Linked DNA regions of Homo sapiens: region 2 is linked to region 1. Evidence: promoter capture Hi-C in 16 types of primary human blood cells and fetal thymus (Javierre and others, 2016). All regions are on one chromosome and are shown on one strand. The core of a region is centred on a gene start or on the middle of the fragment in contact, and the rest is flanking DNA. Distances in the headings are between cores, read along the strand shown. Region 1 holds the start of ICE1 (interactor of little elongation complex ELL subunit 1). Region 2 overlaps MTRR (5-methyltetrahydrofolate-homocysteine methyltransferase reductase).

Evidence for each region. Contacts are between HindIII fragments. The CHiCAGO score rates a contact against its expected background, and 5 or more counts as called.
Region 2: a fragment that was not itself captured here is called in contact with the fragment with the promoter of ICE1 in region 1 in 2 of 17 cell types (naive CD8 T cells and naive B cells); the score reaches 7.7 in naive CD8 T cells.

Annotation. Positions count from the first base shown.
Region 1 is chr5:5,421,427-5,427,877 of GRCh38, forward strand. It overlaps ICE1 (interactor of little elongation complex ELL subunit 1), which reads left to right and starts at 1,251. Exons shown (of 19, transcript NM_015325.3): 1 at 1,251-1,573. The coding sequence starts at 1,490. LOC101929200 (a long non-coding RNA gene) reads right to left here and starts at 703. Exons shown (of 6, transcript XR_001742583.3): 1 at 1-703. RefSeq lists enhancers at 1-497, 498-1,008, 874-1,123 and silencers at 1,154-1,483, 1,544-1,683. The HindIII fragment of the contact is 2,607 bases long and covers 1-1,770 here.
Region 2 is chr5:7,886,049-7,888,884 of GRCh38, forward strand. It overlaps MTRR (5-methyltetrahydrofolate-homocysteine methyltransferase reductase), which reads left to right. Exons shown (of 15, transcript NM_002454.3): 8 at 567-655. Among named protein-coding and RNA genes, the nearest start is that of MTRR, 18 kb to the left of the region's middle. The HindIII fragment of the contact is 454 bases long and covers 1,150-1,603 here.

The DNA of each region.
Region 1 (6,451 bases), core at 1-2,500:
TCTATCACCGGCAGGTCCTCAGTTAGGTACACGCCTGTCTTGCTTGGGTGTCAACGACAGGAAACTTAGCTATCGCTGGATGTCTGCTTCCGCCACTCCACAGCAGGTGGTATCCAGAGTGTGTAAGCAAGGTCAGGGGTGCGAAATTTGGAGAAGAAAACTCAGAGAAAAATGCAGACTGCTTTTTTTGGAAGGGGTGTTTTCAGTTGCAATTTCCATACTGAGGAGCTAGAAATTGGCTGGTAAGGTCTAGACATTAACTTAACTAAACGTGCATTCCTCCTCTTGAATTTGGACTTTATAAGGAATTTGGATTGTATAACCACACGATGGAAGCTGCGAGAGGCTTCTGAACAAGGTACTGACGGCGACCAGCTGTGATGACTAAAAAGACGATTCTGGTGGTGGTGGATACGGTGGCTGGAGATAAGAAAAACCTCGGTTCAAACGAGATCTGAATTTACCCACTAACTACGACCACGAGGAGTTTATTCCTTTATCTTTCCGTTTTCTCTCTCTCCCGAGAAGTGTCAAAAACAGGATTTGGAGGTGGCAGGATAATGGCCAAAATGGGTAGACAAGGTGGCGAACGATTCAACCAGGCTCTGGGCTTGGCGCATGGTGGGCGGTGGCGCCCACACCTGGGCCTGGGAACCCGCCGCTCGGGCATCACTGGCTGCCGCGGCGACCGGCGAGGACACATGACCGAGGAGCGAAAGGTCAGAAGACAAGGGGACTGTTACAGGAGCAGGGGAGCCGCCACTGGCTGCTAAGGCCGTGCAACTGGCGCCGAAGCGCACGATCTCCGCCCGCCCCGCAGCGCGTCGGGAACTGTAGTCCCTCCCTCTCCTGCTCCCTGGCCCAGGACGGGCTCCGGGACAGCGCCTATCCCTCTAGCTGTAAATCACGCACTTTCCTGTCCTGGACGCCGGGTCCTTCCACTTCTCAGGCGTCTGGAGCTTACGTCACGGGCGGGTCACCGCCCACATAGCGGAGGCCTTTAGGTGTCTATGGAAAGCCTGTCGTACAGCAAGGTGGCAATAAAGGATCGACCCTTAACAGTGGTAGGAATGCACCTTCGATCCTTCTACTCCTATTGGCTGCTCCTCTGTGGGCGTCTCCCCCGCCGCATAGCACAGCTCCTCTCCCGGTGTTGCTCAGGCAGCGCCTTAGGCAGCCCCGCGCCCAGGGGAGGGGCGGGGCGAGCCAGGGCGGGGCGGGGCGAGCCAGGGCGGGGCGGGGCCCTGACTGGACTGCGTCGCGCTCGGGGGCCGCGCCGGGTAGCGTTTCTTTTTAGTGCCTGAGGCAGCTCTGGCTCGGAGAGCCTTTTGCTAGCCCCACGGGGACCTCTGTGCACGGATGGACCCGCCCGGACCTGGCGGGAAGCGGCCTGGCAGGCGGCGGCCCCGGCGGCATCAGCAGAGACAGGACGGGGCCGACGCCGCGGGCCCCTGAGGCGTGCGTGCCCACCGGGCCCGGCGGCGGCACCATGATGCCGGGCGAGACCCATTCGGCGGCGCCCGGGACGGCGGCGGACCTGTCGCGATGTCAGGGCTGCGCCTCTCTGCAGCAGGTGCAGCACCTCCCGGGGCCCCGGGCGCGGGGGGGGACTCGGCTCGGCCGGCCGGGAGCGCAGGGATGTGGGGTCCGGCCGCGCGGGCTGTGCCTCAGTGCGCTGCTCTCCCTTCCCAACCGTAGCTCTTGCTCGCTCGTCTCTCTGCTCTCTTTTTCCTACATGAGTTTTGGGGACGGCTTTCTTTGCTTTATTTAAGCTTGAAACCCAGAGTTCATTGACTGGAATGCGCTGGTGTAACGGTGGGGGTGGAGTAAGCGAGGTTTGGAGGGCCCCCCACCTTCCCTACCCGGCCTCGGAGCTCCCTAGGGCAGACTCCGTAGGTCAGTGAGGGACAGGTGAAACGCCGAGGGCAGTTATCTCCCTGAGGATAACGCTTTGGTCTTCTGGCCCATCCTGAGTATTTGTTGTTTGGAGGCAGAATCTTACGTGACATGTGGGTTGTCTGAGTCTTAGACTCGAAGAGTCTAGGGAGGCGTTTCAGCTTATAGCAGATGTGCCATCCCGAGGCTAATTTTTTAAAAAGCAAGCCAAGTAATTGGTCAAGTAGCTTGTCAGTTGTTTGATAAAAGTAGTTTATGAAAGGCATGCAGAGACTGGAGGTTTCTAACAGCGGCGTGGGCTCTTCTTTAGAGTGACATAAGGGAGAATTGCTAGAGTATGGCTCCAGATCTTATGGGGTGGTACTTGGGCAATAGTGCCCCTCATTTCCCACGACTCTCCTAGCTGCCTGATGTCGGGGGTCTCTTTTAACTTCCTACTATCGCGGTTTCAGTGATAAAACGGAACTCACCAGCACCTCATTACCTACTCTGCCTAGTGTTCTAGGAACTACAGACATTGTGGTGAACAAAATAGGATCTCTCATAAGTAAGATGCATATGTGTGAATAAGGCCTCAGAAGATTTTAGGTGTTAGAAAATAAAGGAGGATGTTGGAATATTGGTCTTGTCTCTTAGCTAGAGTAGTCAGGTAGGGAATTTTTGAGTCAGTAACTTTCAGATATTTGAATAATGGGAAGGATCGGGCTGTCAGAAGAGATGTGGGAAGAGCTTCCTGGATAGAGGGATTAACAGGTGGAAAGGTTCCTTTGGTGAGAAGGAGCAGGGTGTCTTTGATGAGCAGAACATGGTATGGTTGGCATGAGCATAGTGCACACGGAAGATGGTTGATGAGACCAGACGGGAGTGCAGGCTAGGTAGGCCATGCCGAGAAACTTGGTTTGCATTTTAAGTGCAATATCTGTGAACTGATTGCAAACATTTTAAGTGTTGAAGGAAGGGGAGGAAGGAAATGTGCTGCTTTTGTGAGTAGAAGGAGAACTAACAGATCATTGCCTTCACTGAGCTGCATTGTGTAGGTATCTTATAACGCCCCCCCGCCCCCGCCACCACCACCCCAGGAACGTGATTGGAGTTCTCCCGAATCTTTAATACATTGTATTTATTATTCGAGCCAATTCACTCAACAAACATTTATTGATCACCTGCCGTATTTTAGACACTGCAATTATGGCATTAGGGGAGAAAAAGACAAAAATTCTTGATCTCTTGGAGCTTCCGTTCTAGGAGGGTGGCAGGATAAATGAAACAAATGAGTTATGTTAGAGGGTAATGAAAACGTTGTTGATGAATTGAACAGAGATGGGGAGGGAATGAATGGGTGAGGACTAGGCCAGTGGCTGTTGGAATTTAAGTAGGGAGTCCTGGAACGTTTATATTGGAGCAAAGGTGAGAGAATAATAAGCTCTGTAGAAATCTTGGAAGAAAAGTCTCCCATACAGTGGAAACATCAGATGTGAAGAACTGTAGCAGGAGCTGGCTTGGTGTGCTTGGGAAGAGCAAGAAGGCCAGTGAAGCTGGAGCGGAGTGAATGCTGGGAGTCAGGAAGGTAGGAGGAGGGCCTGATTGTGTGGGCTCCTGTAGACCATTGTTGGGGTTTGGGCGATGGAAATGGTGAGTCATTGGAGGCTTTTGTGCAGAAGAACTACTGATGTGAACTGTGCTTTTCAGTCATGGATCTGTTATGGTTAAATTTAGCAACTGTATTCTTCTGGTTGCTTAGGCCAGAAACTAGATGGCATCCTTGGTGCAGCTCTTTTTTTCTCATAACCTGTATCCAGTTTATCAGATTGTGTCCGCTCTGCCTTCATTATTCACCCACTTTTCAACATCTCCACTGCTTCCACCGTGGTGTGAACTACTCTAATGTATGGCCTAGAAATTGAATCTCCTTCCTTCTACCCTTGCCACATTTCCTGCTGTGGGTTCTCAAAACATCAATAAGAGTAATCCTAGATCCAGAGGTCTGCAAACTTTTTCTGTAAGGAGCAAGATCACAAGTATTTAGGCTTTGGGGACTTGCTCAGAACTGCTCAGCTCTGCCATTTTCATGTGAAAGCAGCTGTAGACAATTCACAAAGAAATGAGTATGCCTGTGTTCCATTGAAACATTATAAACACTGGAGTAGGGCCTTAGTTTACAGAGTTCTTCTCTAGGTCAGGACACTATTGCATTTGGATTTTCTGTGGCCTGGAATTGGATTACCTTTTTAGGGGAAAGTTACGAGTAGAGTCTCTGGAGGAATTCTGTAGTTGTGCAAAGTGAGTCTAGAAAAATAGGTTCCTGGCAGTTTATAGAGAACCTTGAATGGTAACCATCATAAATTCTTGTACTTATTTCTGTCAGTGTTATGGGATGGTGAAGGTTTTTGCATAGTTACGTTAGGACAGTGCTTGTAGTAGAAGTAACGGTGGTATGCAGGATGGATTGAAGGGGGGTGCAACTAGGTATGGTAAATTATTTTACTAATACATAATAGTGATAACAAAAGTCTGAAGTAATTGAAGGTTCCTGGGAAGGGGAATAAAGAAGAAAAAGGTTCTGAATATGAGACAGTGTAAAGAATGGGCAGGTCTCATGTCAGGAAATGGAAGGTCCCGAGGTTTAAAACTCAAATGACCATGAGAACTGTGGTAGATACAGGAGGAAGAGGAAATCAAGGTGGAAGGGACTGAAGTTGGAATGACATCAGAACTAGGAGTGTTCAGCCATTTTCAGATTTAATGTTTGTGGAACACAGTGCTTCCAAGGTGCCCTAATATCCCTCAAGGAAATAGCAGGCCAGGTTAGATGTGCACTGTGTTCAGTGTAAGAATTTTATCTGGGCTGGGAGCGGTGGCTCATGCCTGTAATCCCAACACTTTGGGAGGCCAAGGCAGTGGATCACGAGGTCAGGAGTTCAAGAACAGCTTGGCCAAGATGGTGAAACCCCGTCTCTACGAAAAATACAAAAATTAGCCGGGCATGGTGGCATGCGCCTGTAATCCCAGCTACTCAGGAGGCTGAGGCAGGAGAATTGCTTGAACCTGGGAGGCCGAGGTTGCAGTGAGCCGAGATGGTGCCACCACTGCACTCCAGCCTGGGTGACAGAGCAAGACTCCGTCTCAAAAAAAAAAAAAAAAAGCTTATTTGACAGAAGGGAGGTGTGAGGATAGGAAAATGGGGCATTATGTTCTGTCACTTAAAGGAATCTTTGAAACCATGAGGCCAATTCATGGGATTACATGCTATCATTAGAGTCAGTGACGGAAAACCAACTAGCTGATGTGTGGCCTTTGATGAAGGGGAACATGGAATGGTGAGGAAAGGAGAAACAGATAAAGTATGTTAGAGGGTTAAACAGGGAGTGCGTTCCAGAGGGAATCAAGAGTTCCAGAGGGAACCAAGATCGGAAAGAATGAGAATTAAGGAAAAGCAATTCTTTTGGTCAATTAGTAGATAACCGCTTTTTGGAAATAATTTTCGCATGTATTATAACTACGTGAAGTTCCATATTTCAATTAAACTTTCGTGTGAGAGAGAAACTAAAGAGGTACAGAGAGAAGATATTCTGTGCTATAGTTTTAACTTTTTGATCATGCAGAGAATTTACAAGTGTAACATAGGAGTCAGTCTTTCCAATGGTAGGCAACCATATTGGTGTTGTGACTTCATTCTGAACTGTAATGTTAGGCTAACTTGCCTCTCTGTCTTGAATAGTGGTTTGCTTGCACTGAAAATCTTCCTTTCATTTCTTAATCCTCCCTGTCCTTTTTTTCTTTAGTTGTTGAAGAGATAACAGTACCTTTGCAGAGATCATTATTTGATTCAGAAGTGTGCAGATTGACTACATTTTCTGTGTCTTTTGCTCGTAGTCTCACAAATCACTTCATATCTGTTTTGTTACGCTCATTGATTACAGTAGTTCATTGCTGATCCATAGCCCAATGCCCAAAGTTCTGGGTTGCAGAACTTTGGCAGTCAGATATAACAGTGTGGGTCCTCACTCTAGTCATATTATGTATTATGTATGGTTAAGTAAAGTCTTAAGTTGTGTGTGTTTAAGTCAAGCTAGTGAAGCTGACATAGTCTCTTTATTCTGATGAAGGAGAGGCCCATATTTGCTGACTTCACTGCAGTGCAAAACAGTTGGATTCTCCTGGGGATCCAGATGAGAGTTTGAAACACATGATTATATTGTTCATCTCATGTATCTAGATTAGATTCAGTGAGTTTGATGTATGGTTGTCCTTGGAACAGATTTGAGCCTGTCCATAAACTTGTGCTGGACTCCCATTGATAATCGCTAGTGATTTAAGTGTCATCGTTTGGAACTTGAAACATTTTATTCCAGACCTATTGATTTAGAAATGGTTCTTTTACAAGGAATGCTTACAAAATTGTAATTCATTCATTTGCCAAACACATTTATTGAGCTTCGATGTATATATGATGCTATCCTGTGTTTCAGAATACAATGATGAACAGAAGAGGCATGGAGCTCATTCTTGTTGAGGTTACAGTTAAGTAGAAAAGCAACCACAGTATAGGTATAAT
Region 2 (2,836 bases), core at 127-2,626, 2.5 Mb after region 1:
GAATAAGAAGATAATGGATGTTCTAATTATTGGACATTTGTGGACATGAAAACTGAGTGTAAATGTAGTTTTTGAGAAGCATTGGCCTAGGTTATTTTTAAAAATTCTTTTCCTATTATGTTTACTTCTCATAGTATGTTTGTTTTTGCTCATTTATTATATAAAATAATTGCTTTTTCCATAATTAAGAGAAGTTATTTATTTTTCAAAATATAAATATATTATTTACTTAGAATCTTGAAGTAGTCCTAAATTGATTTTTTGAGAAGAATAATGCTAATGGAGTACTGCTGTCTTTTTAGCTTTCATTTCCTTAATTTTAAATAATTTTCCTTTCTTTTATTTGGCCTATCTTGAATTTATAGTCTTCTTATGTTTTTGTAAGGTGGAGTTTTTTACTGTATTCATTTTGGGGAATTTTTTTGGCTGAATAAACATTGCCACAAGTCATGTTGCACTTTGATGCGCTGTAAAGTACTACAGTAATTGTGTTTTGGGGAGTGTGTAAAACATTTTATTCTTCATCTTCTATGTCATGAACCCCTTTCCCGTCTTTACCTGAAAAGGAGCTACCTTACCCCAGCATATACCTGCGGGATGTTCTCTCCAGTTCATTTTTACCTGGTGTCTTGAAATCCGAGCAATTCCTAAAAAGGTATTTTTTTCTGTCTTCTTCAGGTAACTATTTTAAAATATGCTTAGCTTTATTTAGGATTGATTAAACAAATTTAGAATATGCCCTTTGCAGTCTTAAAAAATGTGATCTTGATAGCATGTTTTTAATATTAGTTCCCAAGGGTGTGTGCTATCATCGTAACTATCATCTATGAATCTTTTTATGTTGTATTTGCATTTAAATTTTTGTTTTCTATTGAAATGAGGGCTTAAATAGGGCTTTTTCTTAGTCTAAATAGGGCTTTTTCTTTGTCTTACTTTTACTAGTTATTAACTACGTAGCACATTCCACAGTGATGGAGGTGACTGCAGTTGACCTTGTGTTACCCAGCTACACATTGCTGCTCCTTCTTTAATTGGTGACAGAAAGCTAATGAGAGCGTAGGATTCCCCCCAACCACCACTTGCCACTTCCTACAGTTGTTAAGATCTACTTTGTGTAATACTACATAACTATTTATTGCTGTAACAGAAAGCTTCAGGAAAAATGGAAGGGTTTTGGTAGGTAATAATCAATTATTATGTGAACTTGGAGGTAGAATAATCCACTAGATGTCAGTATTGTACCAGGAACTGTTTTTTTAAAACTACTTGTAACTGATTTCTTCTAACCAGCTCCCGGAAGTGGCCATTAATGGATACAATTTTTCAAATGTGCCTTGCCACACTTGTATTGTCAGTGAGCATAAAGAGTGTTGTAATTAGGCCGCCATCTCCCCAGTGTGGTTTTCGTGTCGTTTTATTAATGTGTTTATTGCATTTCTAGTCTTGGGTGAGTAAAGTACTTTAGAGAGAGGCTCAGCTCTCTAAATAAATATATGTATATTTATATATATATAGATTTATATATATATATATTCCATCTTCCTTTCCTGGTAATCAGCTCGAGATGTAATTTGAGTATTTAGAATTAATTTACTGTAATGAAAGCTTACCGATTAAGTCACAATTTTGGTTCAGCTCTACCCTTTTAAAATTTGTGTAAAGTGTGTGTGTATGTCTGTATATGTGTATATATATGTGTGTGTATATATGTGTGTGTATGTATATATTTGTGTGTGTGTGTGTGCATATATATATATATATATATATATATATATATATATATGGGTTTTTTCAAAAATAGTATGCTCATTGGAAAAATTCTGGATACAGAAATAACCCAGGAAACCAAAGTATTTTATAATCAAACCCTCTGAGTTAACACTTGAATTTTGTTTTCCTGAGGAAAATATGGGTATCCATATTATATGTGCTGTTCCATAACTTGCCTTTTTAACTTAAATCAAGAATCTGTATATTTCAGGATGGAAAGAGTTTTAATGGATACTATGGATACACCATTATTTGTTGATGTAATTATGGGCAATTGAGTCATTTTTGCTTTTTCACTATTAAAAAAGGCAAACTTTCTTGTACTGTATTAATTTTTGAACACTTACTTGAAGTATATTTGTAAAACAAATTCCTTGGAGTAGAATTGCTGTTTTAAAAATATTTACATTTTAAATTGTAGTAATGTTTGTCAGGTTTGTCATCTTGTTCTCCAAAAACAGTGCAGTATTTCCTGTTGTAGTACCATAAAGTTTTTGTAGTTCTAAAGTGAAAAAAGTATGTTAAAGGAAAAATTGTCACTGTTTTAGCTTTTAATTTAGGAGATTGTATTGGCTTTAGAATTTACAAACTGTTATTGGTAGATGTTTTTATTATCTTGCCAAAGTCTTTGCAGAGATTTGGGGCGTCCATTCAGCAGTGTTTCCTGAGTCGTTGTTTTTGGTCAATGCTGAGTTTGGCACTTGGAGGAACACGTGTAATTTGTTAGTGTCCAGGTATTTTAGACAGAGATTCTTCAGCCAAACCTTTGGAAACCTGTGACTCCTTTGGGAACAGTGATTTTGTCCTCCCTGTTAAGGAAGTCCAGGACACAATCATCTTGAGCCATGGAATTTAAAGTAGCAGTACCCATTAGCATTTCACATAACATTTGATGCAGATAATTACTGAAGTGCTTTGTTCCTAAAGAGCCCTTGAGAAATAAGCTATGTCTGCCTGTAATTAATAACTTGTAATTGCATTGAAATAAAAAATTCTTACTAGCAAGTTTGATGTTTTGTTCAGGAATTTAGACTTTGAGAATTGAGATTCAGAATTTTATTAGTTT